2 separate regions of the Homo sapiens genome follow, and region 1 is linked to region 2. Evidence: promoter capture Hi-C in 16 types of primary human blood cells and fetal thymus (Javierre and others, 2016). All regions are on one chromosome and are shown on one strand. Each heading gives the region's core, a stretch centred on a gene start or on the middle of the fragment in contact. The rest is flanking DNA. Distances are from core to core; before and after follow the strand shown.

The links. Contacts are between HindIII fragments. The CHiCAGO score rates a contact against its expected background, and 5 or more counts as called.
Region 1: a fragment that was not itself captured here is called in contact with the fragment with the promoter of BLVRB in region 2 in 2 of 17 cell types (total B cells and naive B cells); the score reaches 6.1 in total B cells.

The regions. Positions count from the first base shown.
Region 1 is chr19:40,137,634-40,143,010 of GRCh38, forward strand. No RefSeq gene overlaps it. Among named protein-coding and RNA genes, the nearest start is that of ZNF780A, 49 kb to the left of the region's middle. The HindIII fragment of the contact is 1,694 bases long and covers 1,476-3,169 here.
Region 2 is chr19:40,462,549-40,468,147 of GRCh38, forward strand. It overlaps BLVRB (biliverdin reductase B), which reads right to left and starts at 3,197. Exons shown (of 5, transcript NM_000713.3): 1 at 3,062-3,197. The coding sequence starts at 3,140. SPTBN4 (spectrin beta, non-erythrocytic 4) reads left to right here and starts at 4,453. Exons shown (of 36, transcript NM_020971.3): 1 at 4,453-4,757. RefSeq lists an enhancer at 2,271-2,390 and a silencer at 3,412-3,611. The HindIII fragment of the contact is 19,600 bases long and covers 2,718-5,599 here.

The DNA of each region.
Region 1 (5,377 bases), core at 1,073-3,572, 330 kb before region 2:
TTCAAATTCTCCATCTGCTCAACCCTGGCTCCCCTCTCCCTTCCACAGGCGTCAACCCCTAATAAGTCTCTTGCACCCCAAACTGCATCTTAGTGTCTGCTTCCAGAGAACTCAAACAACAACAGCCCTCAACAGCATATAGACGGTTATGCAAAGCCTAGAAGTTGCATTTACCTTATTAACAGGTTCTTAAAGTATTTCATGCCAACTTCCCAAAAAAATAGACTCTTCTCTGTCCAGTGAGCCTAACATCCTGACCTGGAGAGGCAAGAGCAGGATTTTTTAAAAGCACTTCATAGAGGCCACAGTAGGAAAGGCCAAAGATGCCCAAACTCATCAGTATTCAGAATATTCTAATTAACACACAATGAGGCCAGGTACGGTGGCTCACACCAGTAATCCCAACACTTAGGGAGGCCGAGGTGGGAGGATCGCTTGAGCCCAGGAGTTCAAGACCCACCTGGGCAACATAGCAAGACTCTGTTCTCCACAAAGAGAAGGGGAAAACCCACAACGGCATACCATTTCATACCCAGCAGACTGTCGAAATGTAAGTCTCTCAATATCAGGTTTTAATCCATAGAATAAAATAAATATCCACACTTCTCGGCCGGGTGCAGTGACTCACACCTGTAATCCCAGCACTTTGGGAGGCCAAAGCGGGTGGATCACTTGAGATCAGGAGTTTGAGACCTGCCTGGCCAACATGGTGAAACCCTGTCTGTACTAAAAAAAAAAAAAAAAAAAAAAAATTAGCCAGGTGTGGTGGCACACACCTGTAATCCCAGCTACTCAGGAGGCTGAGGCATGAGAATCACTTGAACCCAGGAGGCAGAGGTTGCAGTGAGCAGAGATCACAACACTACACTCCAGCCTGGGTGACAGAGTAAGACTCCACCTGAAAAATAATAAATAAATAAATAAATCACACTTCTGCATGGATCGAAATAAAAAAATAAATACATGAGGAGAAGGGATGGTTCTATCTTTCAGTAGATTTACAATTTATAAATGTAAAAGGAGAAAGGAATATGAAAAATTACCATTAGTCAAATGTCACAGCAATAACTGTTGCAGACAAGATCCACCAATGGATGCTAAAATTTGTGGGCAAAAGTTTGAGAAGGAAAAAGACTTGTATAGTCTCAAAAAATCTCCTTCAAGATAGTTTTTAATTACCAAGGGGAAAATAGTAACTTTACAGTGGAGATGTGCAGCATACAGCAATTTAAGTGATCAAGGTCAGCATCACCAGCAATAAGATACACTGACATCAGGTGCCTCCTGATATCATGCACTGAGAAGGACACAACATCATTTCTGTGGCGTTCTTGGCAAAAACTCATAACTTTAGTCCAGTCATGAGAAAATGTCAGACAAGCCCAAATTGAGGAATATCCTATAAACTAACTGATCAGTACCATTCAAAAGTGTCAAAGTCAGTTGGGCATGGTGGCTCACACCTATAATCCCAAAGCTTTGAGAGGTTGAGGCAGGAGGATTGCTTGAGGCCAATAATTCAAGATCAGCATGTGCAACACAGTGAGACCCCATCCTGACAAAAAAAATTAGCCGGGCACCATGGCATGTGGCTGTAGTCCTAGCTACTCAAGAGGCTGAGGCAGGAGGATCCTCTGAGTCCAGGAGTTGAAGGTTGCAGTGAGCTATGATCGCACCACTGCACTCCAGCCTGGGCGACAGAAAGAGACCCTACCTCTTAAAAAAGCAAAGTGTCAAAGTCATGAAACACAAGCAAATACAGAGGAAATGTTCCTGTCTAGAAGAGACACAACAACTGAACACAATATGGGAGTCTGGAACAGAAAAAAGGAAAAAAAAAGGACATCAATAGAAAAAGTGTTAACATTCAAATAAGATTGGTAGTTTAGTTGATACTGTGATACCAATGTTAATTTCCTAGTTTTGATCATTGTGCTATGCTAATAACAATAGGGGGAGCAGGATGAGAGATATGTGGGACCTCTCTGTACTATCTGCACTTTTCTGCAAGTCTAAAATTATCTAGCATTACAGCTTCCACCTCACTCTCTGCGTTAACTTGCTCACCATCTGGCCCTCCCCACAGTCCCCATCATGTGGCCTAGCTTCCCCTAGAGCAAGTGGACCCAGAGGAGTGTGAGTGAGCCCCCTTGGAAGGGCATTCTCCAGTTCCTTTAAACCCTTCTGATGACTGAACCCCAGGCCAGTGCCTTCGAACCAGAACCATGTGGATAAGCTGCTCTCAAATACTTGACCCACAAAAAGTGTGTGAGACAATAAATGTTTACTGCTTTTACCTCCCAGATTTTCTTTTTGAAATTCAGAAAGTTGTTGTTGCACATAATGACGACTAGATGGCACCAGAATTCCAAGGATAGAAGCAGGCTGCCAGCATCATGAACTCAATTGCCTCTGAGTTTGTTTACAAATTTATTGCAATCCCAATACAGATATCATCAAGGGTTTTGTGTGTGTGTTTGTGTGTGTGTGTGTGTGTGTGTTTTCTTTTTTTGCCCCAGAGCTAGAAAGAAGCAGTAGCAGCCGTGGCTGCCACCAACTTAGGCAGTAGCTCTACCAAATACTTAAAACGATATAAGTGGCCAGGCGTGGTAGCTCATGCCTATAATCCCAGCACTTTGGGAGGCTGAGGCGGGTGGATCACCTGAGGTCAGGAGTTTGAGACCATCCTGGACAACATGATGAAACCCCATCTCTACTAAAAATACAAAAATTAACTGGGCATGGTGGTGGGCACCTGTAATCCCTGCTACTCGAGAGGCTGAGGCAGGAGAATCCCTTGAACCCGGGAGGCAGAGGTTGCAGTGAGCTGAGTTTGCACCATTGCACTCCAGCCTGGGTGACAAGAACAAAACTCCGTATCAGAAAAATTAAAAATAATAAAAATAATACAATAAAAATAAAACAATATGTGCCCTTGCCATGGTTGGGGCTAAAAAAAAAAAAGTAAATAAAAACAATATTTTAAAATGTGTTACTGATGCATAAATAAGCAGACAGATCAAAAGAAGGTTAGAAAATCCAAAGACAGAAGCAATTGCTGATGGAGATTTATATGATGATATAGTAATTTCTAATTCAGGAAGGGACTTTAGAAAAGGTTTTAATTTAGTAGTGTAGAAACAACTAGATGACCACGTGAAAACAAAGAAGCTTGAATGCATTTCCCACCCCATATACCAGATTAAATCCTAAACATATCAAAGATCTAAATGAAAAAACACAGCCTCACAGATAATAAAACACTGGTGAGTTCCCTCATTACCGGGGAGGGTGTAAATTTTCCAAACTATTACTCAAGATCCAGAAGCCATAAAAGAGAATTTTGTTAAATGACCAAACAAAAAAAAAACAAAAACCTTTTGCGTGGCCACAAAATAAGCCATACACAACCAAAAACTACAGATGACAAAATAAGAAAAATATTTACCACTTATATCACAGAAGAGAAAGAGTTAAAATCCCTAAAATATAAAGTGTCTAAAAATTAAGGGAAAAAAAACAAGAAACCTATTGAAAGCGGGCAAGATACATAAACAGAGAGTTCACGTTAAAAAATGCAAATGCCACCTAAATTTATAAAAATAGCCAGACACAGTGGCTCATCCCTGTAATCCCAGTACTTTCGAAGGGAAGGTGAGGGGATTGATTGATCCCAGGAGTTTAAGACCAGCCTGAGCAAGATGACAAGACCTTGTCTCTAAATAAAATAAAATAAATTAGCTGAGTGTGGTGGCACACACCTGTGATCCCAGCTACTCGGGATGCTGAGGTGGGAGGATGGGAGGACTGCTGGAGCCCAGGAGTTCAAGGCTGCAGTGAGCTATGATTGCACCACTGCACTCCAGCCTGTGTGACCGAGTAAGACCCTGTCTCAAAAAATAAAAAATAAAATATCACACCTGTAATCCCAGAATTTTGAGAGGCTGAGGCAAGCAGATCACCTGAGGTCAGGAGTTCAAGACCAGCCTGGCCAACATGGCATGGTGCATGCCATGTTGCAGCCAGGCAACATGGTGCAGCCAGGCATGGTGGCATGCACCTGTAATCCCAGCTACTCAGGAGGCTGAGGCAGGAGAATCGCTTGAGCCTGGGAGACGAAGGTGGCAATGAGCCAGCCGAGATTGTGCCACTCCACTCCAGCCTGACTGGCAAAGCAAGAGCCTGTCTCAAAAAATAAAAAATAAACTAAAGCTCAGCCTCACTCATAATAAAAGAAACACAATTAAAACTGCCCTGAGATCCTATTTCTCACCTAACAGATTAGCAAAAATCCAAATGTTGGACAGCCCTCTTGTTGGCAACGCTGTGGGGAAACAGGGACTCTTCCATTTTACTGATGGAATATAAAAAGATAAAACCTCCATGGAGGAGAATTTGGCAATATCTAGTGAATTTGCCCTTTGACTCAGCAATCCTACTTCTAGGAATTAGGTCCAAAGACACAGACAGAAATAGGAAACTTCATATGAACGTGCCTCTTCACTGGAGCCCTACGCATGATAGCAAAAAACTGGAAACTATTGCAATAGCCATGAAGAGGGTGCTGCTTAATTCAACTATGCTATATCCACAAATACAGAGCACTGTACAGCTGTGAAAATAAGATATATTAAGATTACATATATATGTGATGTGTGTGTATGTACAAGTGTGTACACACGTGTTTTTTTGTTTTGTTTTTTTGACTATTTGTTTGTTTTGTTTTGTTTTGAGACAGTCTTGCTCTGCCGCCCAGGCTGGAGTGCAATGGCACGATCTCAGCTCACTGTAACTTGCACCTCCCAGGATACAAGCCATTCTCCTGCCTCAACCTCCCTAGTAGCTGGGACTACAGGCACGTACCATGACGCCCTGCTAATTTTTGTATTTTTAGTAAAGATGGGGTTTTGTCATTTTTACCAGGCTGGTCTTGAACTCCTGACCTCAAGTGATCCGCCCACCTCAGCCTCCCAAAGGTCCTGGGATTACAGGCGTGAGCCACCACACCCGGCCCATGTGTACACACATATATAGTCACCTCCAAGATGTAGTTAAGTGAAAAAACCAAGGTGCAAATTGGTATGAACAGGATGTACCTTTTGCTCAATAGAGAGGAAAATGAATACATATGTTCATTGGTTTATATTTTCCAAGTAAATGGAATGTCAAAACAATTTTTGCGATTGGGACTCAATCACCCACAAAACAATGGTTTTGGTTTTTTGTTTTCTTGAGACAGGGTCTTGTTCTGTCACCCAGGATGGAGTGCAGTGGTATGATCACAGCTCACTGCAGCCTCCACTTCCTGGGCTCAAGCGATCCTCCCACCTCAACCTCCAGAGTAGCTGGGACTGCAGACGTGTGTGACCACGCCCAG
Region 2 (5,599 bases), core at 1,947-4,446:
ATTACAGGCGTGAGCCATGGTGCCTGGCCTCTTTTTAAGCTTTTTGAAAATCTCAGCCATTGGCCGGGCGTGGTGGCTCACGCCTGTAATCCCAGCACTTTGGGAGGCTGAGGCGGGCGGATCATGAGGTCAGGAGATGGAGACCATCCTGGTTAACATGGTGAAACCCCATCTTTACTAAAAATACAAAAAAAATTAGCTGGGCATGGTGGCAGGCGCCTGTAGTCCCAGCTACTTGGGAGGCTGAAGCAGGAGAATGGCTGAACTCGGGAGGCGGAGCTTGCAGTGAGCTAAGATTGTGCCACTGCACTCCAGCCTGGGCGGCAGAGTGAGACTCTTGTCTCAAAAAAAAAAAAAAAAAAAAAAAAAAATCAGCCATCAATACAAAAAATTTCATTGCCTAACCTGGTGTACACAAACGCATACATATATAATTAAAATGAGTTTCACAAAACTAATACTTAACATGTGATACATTTTGATACTATGTCATCATTTGTTACCCTATATTGTTGATACACGTTGTGACCATATGTTTCAGATCTCATTGTAACTCACAGTTTGAGAAGCATCAGGTTGCAACAACCCTGCAAGGTAGGTATCATTATCCTGTCCACATTGATGGGGAAACTGAGGCAATTTTAGGCAACCGGGCCAGGATCACACAGCTAGTAGGTAGAGAAGGTTGAATTTTTACCTAAGTAAGTCTGATCCAGAGACTGCAAAATTCAATGCTAGTCTAAGTACCTCCTATATAAGATCTCATTTAATTATCCCAAGAGCCCTAGGGCAAGTACTACCAGTTTTGTCATGATCTTACACATATCTAGGTACACAGATGACAAGGCATTTGGTCACAAAGGCTGTAAGCCGCAGAGCTGGTGACTTGAATGTGGGCAGGCTGGCACCAGAGTTCATGCCTGTTAAGACTCTTGGCCCTACAGAACCATTGTGAACTCCAGTTAATCCAAGCCCCTTCTCCCTCCCTCCCTCCCTCCCTCCCTCCTTCCCTCCCTTCTTTCCTTCCCTCCCTCCCTCCCTCCATCCCTCCCTCCTTTTCTTCCTTCCTTCTTTCCTTTCATCTTGCTGTGTCACCCAGGCTGGAGTGCAGTGGTGCAGTGATGCAATCTTAGCTCACTGCAACCTCCCAGGTTCAAGCGATTCTTGTGCCTCAGCCTCCCAAGTACCTGGAATTACAGGCACGTACCACTGTGCCCAGCTAATTTTTTTTTTTTTGAGACAGAGTTTCACTCTTGTCGCCCAGGCTGGAATGCAGTGGCGTAATCTCGGCTCACCACAACCTCTGCCTCCCGGATTCAAGCTATTCTCCTGCCTCAGTCTGCCAAGTAACTGCGATTACAGGCACCAGCCACCATGCCCGGCTAATTTTTCGTATTTTTAGTAGAGACGGGGTTTCACTATATTGGCCAGGCTGGTCTCGAACTCCTGACCTCGTGATCCACCTGCCTCAGCCTCCCAAAGTGCTGAGATTACAGGCGTGAGCCACCGCACCCAGCCTCTTTTTCTTTCTTTTTATGTATTTTTTTAAATTTGAGAGACAGGGTCTCACCCTGTCACCCAGGCTGGAGTGCAGTGGTGCAAACACAGCTCACTGTAGCCTTGAACTCCTGAGCTCAAGCAATCCTCCCACCTGAGCCTTCTGAGTAGCTGGGACTACAGGCATGCATCACCACGCCCAGCTAATTTATTTTTTTTTTGTATTTTTGTAGAGATGGGGTCTTGCTACGTTGCCCAGGCTAGTCTCAAACTCCTGGCCTCAAGCCATCCTCCCGCCTTGGCCTCCCAAAGTGCTGGGATTATAGGCATGATCCACCGTGCCTGGCCAGCCCTTCCCTTTGCTGAGGGGGACAGCAAAGCTGAGAGCTGGGAAGAGATTTTTCAGAGCCACAGCTCTGAAGCTCCCTAGGCTCCAGTTCTTAACCCTCTGAGTGCAGTCCCAGCTATGACCAGCAGGGTGGGCGAGTGGAATTCGGTGGAATTAGTGGATTTCCAGGTGACTCAGCGCCTCTCAACTTCTCTCTCTTACTTCCTTCTCCATTACTCCCGAATAAATGCTTATCAGCAAACTGGTTTTTACTGAGAGGCCCACAGCTCCCCATTCTCCACAAGTCAAGATCCTCACGTGGTCTCCCTGGGGAAGGGGAGAGTTATGGACCTAGAGAAGAACTTTCAGAGTCCCTCCAAGGGAGACAGCAGAGTGGGGTCCTGTTGGCCTCCACCCTTTTGGGGCACGCAGATAGTCAATATCTTCAGCGTCCCCAAGGCCTGCAAGGGTGGGGCCCCATATCTGGAAGTCCCAGGCCCAGCTGGGAGTTGGTCAAGTCTGGGCTGTGGGGGCAGGGAGTGCTGGGGGATGGTTATCCCCTTTTCTGCCCTCTCTCCTGGGGCAACTCCAAATTTTCAGCCCTCATTGACTTTCCCAGGACTGCTGTCCCCAAGTCTTCACTCATGTCTCTCTGTGACTCCTTCCCATTAGGTACTCGCAGCAACCTGACCCCCCAACTTTTTCAGTTTCCAGCCTGGGGACTTGTGGTGGTTAAGAGCATGAGCTGAGTTCAAATCCCAGTCCTGTCAGTTAACAGCTGTGTGATATTGGGCAAGTCACTCTCTGGGTCTCAGTTTTCTCATCTGTCAAGTAGGGTGATACTAGTTCCCACCCCATTTTGAAAGCTCTCATGTGAAGAGACGACAGAGCAAGCTTGGCTTAGTAAATCCTCTCTGGGAGTGCGAACAACCACCACCACAACCACAATAATGACAACCGCATTGCATAAGAGCCCTGGACTTACACACGACTGTGCCAGTGGAGTCCTCCCGGGGCTCCCGGGGCCAATTCCTCTCTGGCTTGGACTCACATAAACTTGGATCTCACATCTTTCCCCATTTCTGCCCCCGTGGCCACTTGCTTTGGCCCCTGAGTCCTCATACACCTGGCTGGGGCGCTCATGGCCCCAATCAGCCTCGGCCCGACCCCATGGTGCCCCTTCCTAAAGTTCTGCCCGTCTGTCCCGTGACATGCCCCGCCCGCCCCGGCTCATGCCTGCTTGCACCGCCTGCGCCAGGGTGGTGAGCCCGGTCTGGCCAGTGGCGCCGAAGATCGCGATCTTCTTGACGGCCATCGTACGGGATCGTGGGGGTGCAAGGCCTCAGAGTCTCGGCACGCGCGGGAACCCACTGGCTGCTGGGCGGTGCTCTCTGCCCTACTCAAGCCAGGAACAACGGGGCGGAGCTGGCTCGAAGGGCCACGCCTCAGACTCTCCGCCCGCGGCTCAGGTCAAGGGGCGGGGCCTAACGCGGATGGGCGGGGCAGGCGTCAGCTTGCATTCGCTCACCGTCCAGCACCGCCCTCTCTGCGCGCCACTTAGACTGGAAGGCGGGGCCACAGAAGGCCACGCCTCCACATAGCAACAAATAGAGTGGACGGAGCCGAGATAACTTGTCACTCAGCGCCCTGCCTCCGCGCTCCACCTCCCGGAGAGGGGCGGGGCCAGGCGAGCCTCACCCACGGCCTCTCGTAGCTCACGCCCCCTCTCCCGGAGCCTGGAGCGGATCTGGGGCGCACTCTAAGCCCCAGGGCCTCCCAGAACCAGCAAGGGGAGAAAGTTAGGAGGACAGAGTGTGTGTGTGCACTTGGATGTAAGACACTGTGTCACGGCGTACCTATGCACTTATATGACCCTGTGTGACTCAGTGACCCGGAGGGCAAGCAGGACTGTGGGTGACACCTTGTGTCATCCTCTGAGTGTGATCCCGTGTTACAGTGTGACTACACGTGCGTGACACCACGTGTGGCAGGCATTGATTCTGTTCTTTTGTGACCTTGTGGTGACACCGTGGGTGACACTGCGTCAGCCTGTACGATAGGGTGTGGGACGTGTGAGGTGTGCTACATGGAAGCGTGAGACTAATTAGACTGTGACAGTGTGTGACACCACATGTCTCGTGTAAGGATGTGTGACACCGGGACCCCATTCGAGTGTGTGGCTGTGGGTGTCTGTGTTGAGCTGCTCATTGTGACCCCCTGTGACTATGATGTGTGAGGTGCGGCGGTGCAGCATGTGCGGGGCGACTGCTATGAAGGTTCGAGTGTGTAGAGTGTGTGACACTGTGGCTGTGAAGCTGTGCGTGATGTGTGGGCCTATGACACTGTTTGTGACTGCCGGGGAGTGTGCGGCTGTGTGTGACAGGTGCATTTGTGTGTGACGCCGCGTGGGCGGTGGTTACCCTATTGGATTTGTGTGGTGGTGGGTGACACCGTTCCAGTGTGGACGCCGCGTGTGACGGCGTGAGGGTGTGACCCCGTGAGACCCCACAGGAGGGAGTGACGGCGCGCAAGCGCGTGGATGCGGGGGTGAGTTTGTGCGCCGAGGCCCCCGCGAGTATGGCAGCGTGGCGAGCGTGACCCCGTGGGAGTGTGCAGCGCGTGACGCCGCCGTGCCCTCGCGAGTGCAGCCGTGCACCCCACGCCGCGGCCGGGTGTGACTGCGCGTGGGCCTCGGGCGGCGGGGCGCGGGGACCGCGGGCGGGAGGGGGTCCCGGGGGCGCGCTGAGCGCGGCGGCGGCGCGAGAGAGGGAGGCGCGGCGGCGCATGCGGATCTGGCTGAGCCGCGGGCCGGCGGGGCCGAGCTGAGCCGGGCTGGGCCGGGCCGGGCCGGGCCGGGCAGCGGACGCCGACAGGGAGGGCGGTCGGTCGCGGCGAGCAGCGGAGACAGCGACGCTGGCGGCCGCGGGCCCAGGTGAGCTGCTAGGGGGGCCGACAGCCCCTCCCCCAAGTATGTCCCCACCTGGCGAGCATCCCTCCTCCGCGCGCACGGGGCATGGCTGGAGCCCCGGGTCTCCCCGGCTGGAGGGAGGCAAAGGGTCGAGGGCAGGACGAGCCCACAACCCCCCCACCCGGTCTAGCTTCCGCGCCACGCGTGGGTCTTACCCCCAGGCCTTGTCCTTCCCAGGCCCCCTCCTTGGGCGCAGTGTCTGGACCGCAGGGAGAGAGGCGCGGCCTGGGAAGGGTTAAAGCCTCTGATGCCACCGCAGCCCAGCGCCCCACCAGCCTTTGCGGGGGGGGGGGGGTGTTGGGGGGAGGCTCGCAGGACACCCCTTCCCGGCTTCCCTATTACCTGCTCCCTTCCTTCCCATTCAATCGCGTTATGGCCAGAGCTGATCCTCGGCCTGGCCAGAGGGCTAACAGGAGTGCTAAGGGCCTCCCCATCTCTAAGTGTCTTCCACTGAAGAAAACAGCTGTAACCACCGTTTAACAGGGAGGGAAACTGAGGCACAGAAAGGCCAAGTTAAAGATACTCGGTTAAAGATACAGCAAGAATAAAGCGGAACTTGAACTCATTTCTGTCTGACTCCAGAAGAGGCAAATCGATTTGCTGAGATGTGTGAGGAAAAGATGAAGAATAATAGCAAGGAACATGTATCAAGGGCTTGCAGTGTACCAGATACCATGATCCCTGCATTAATAACTTACCTCTTCAAACACCGCTAAGAAACGGGTACGATTATCATTACTTTTTTTTTTTTTTGAGACGGAGTTTCACTCTTGTCACCCAAGTTGGAGTGTAATGGCGCGATCTTG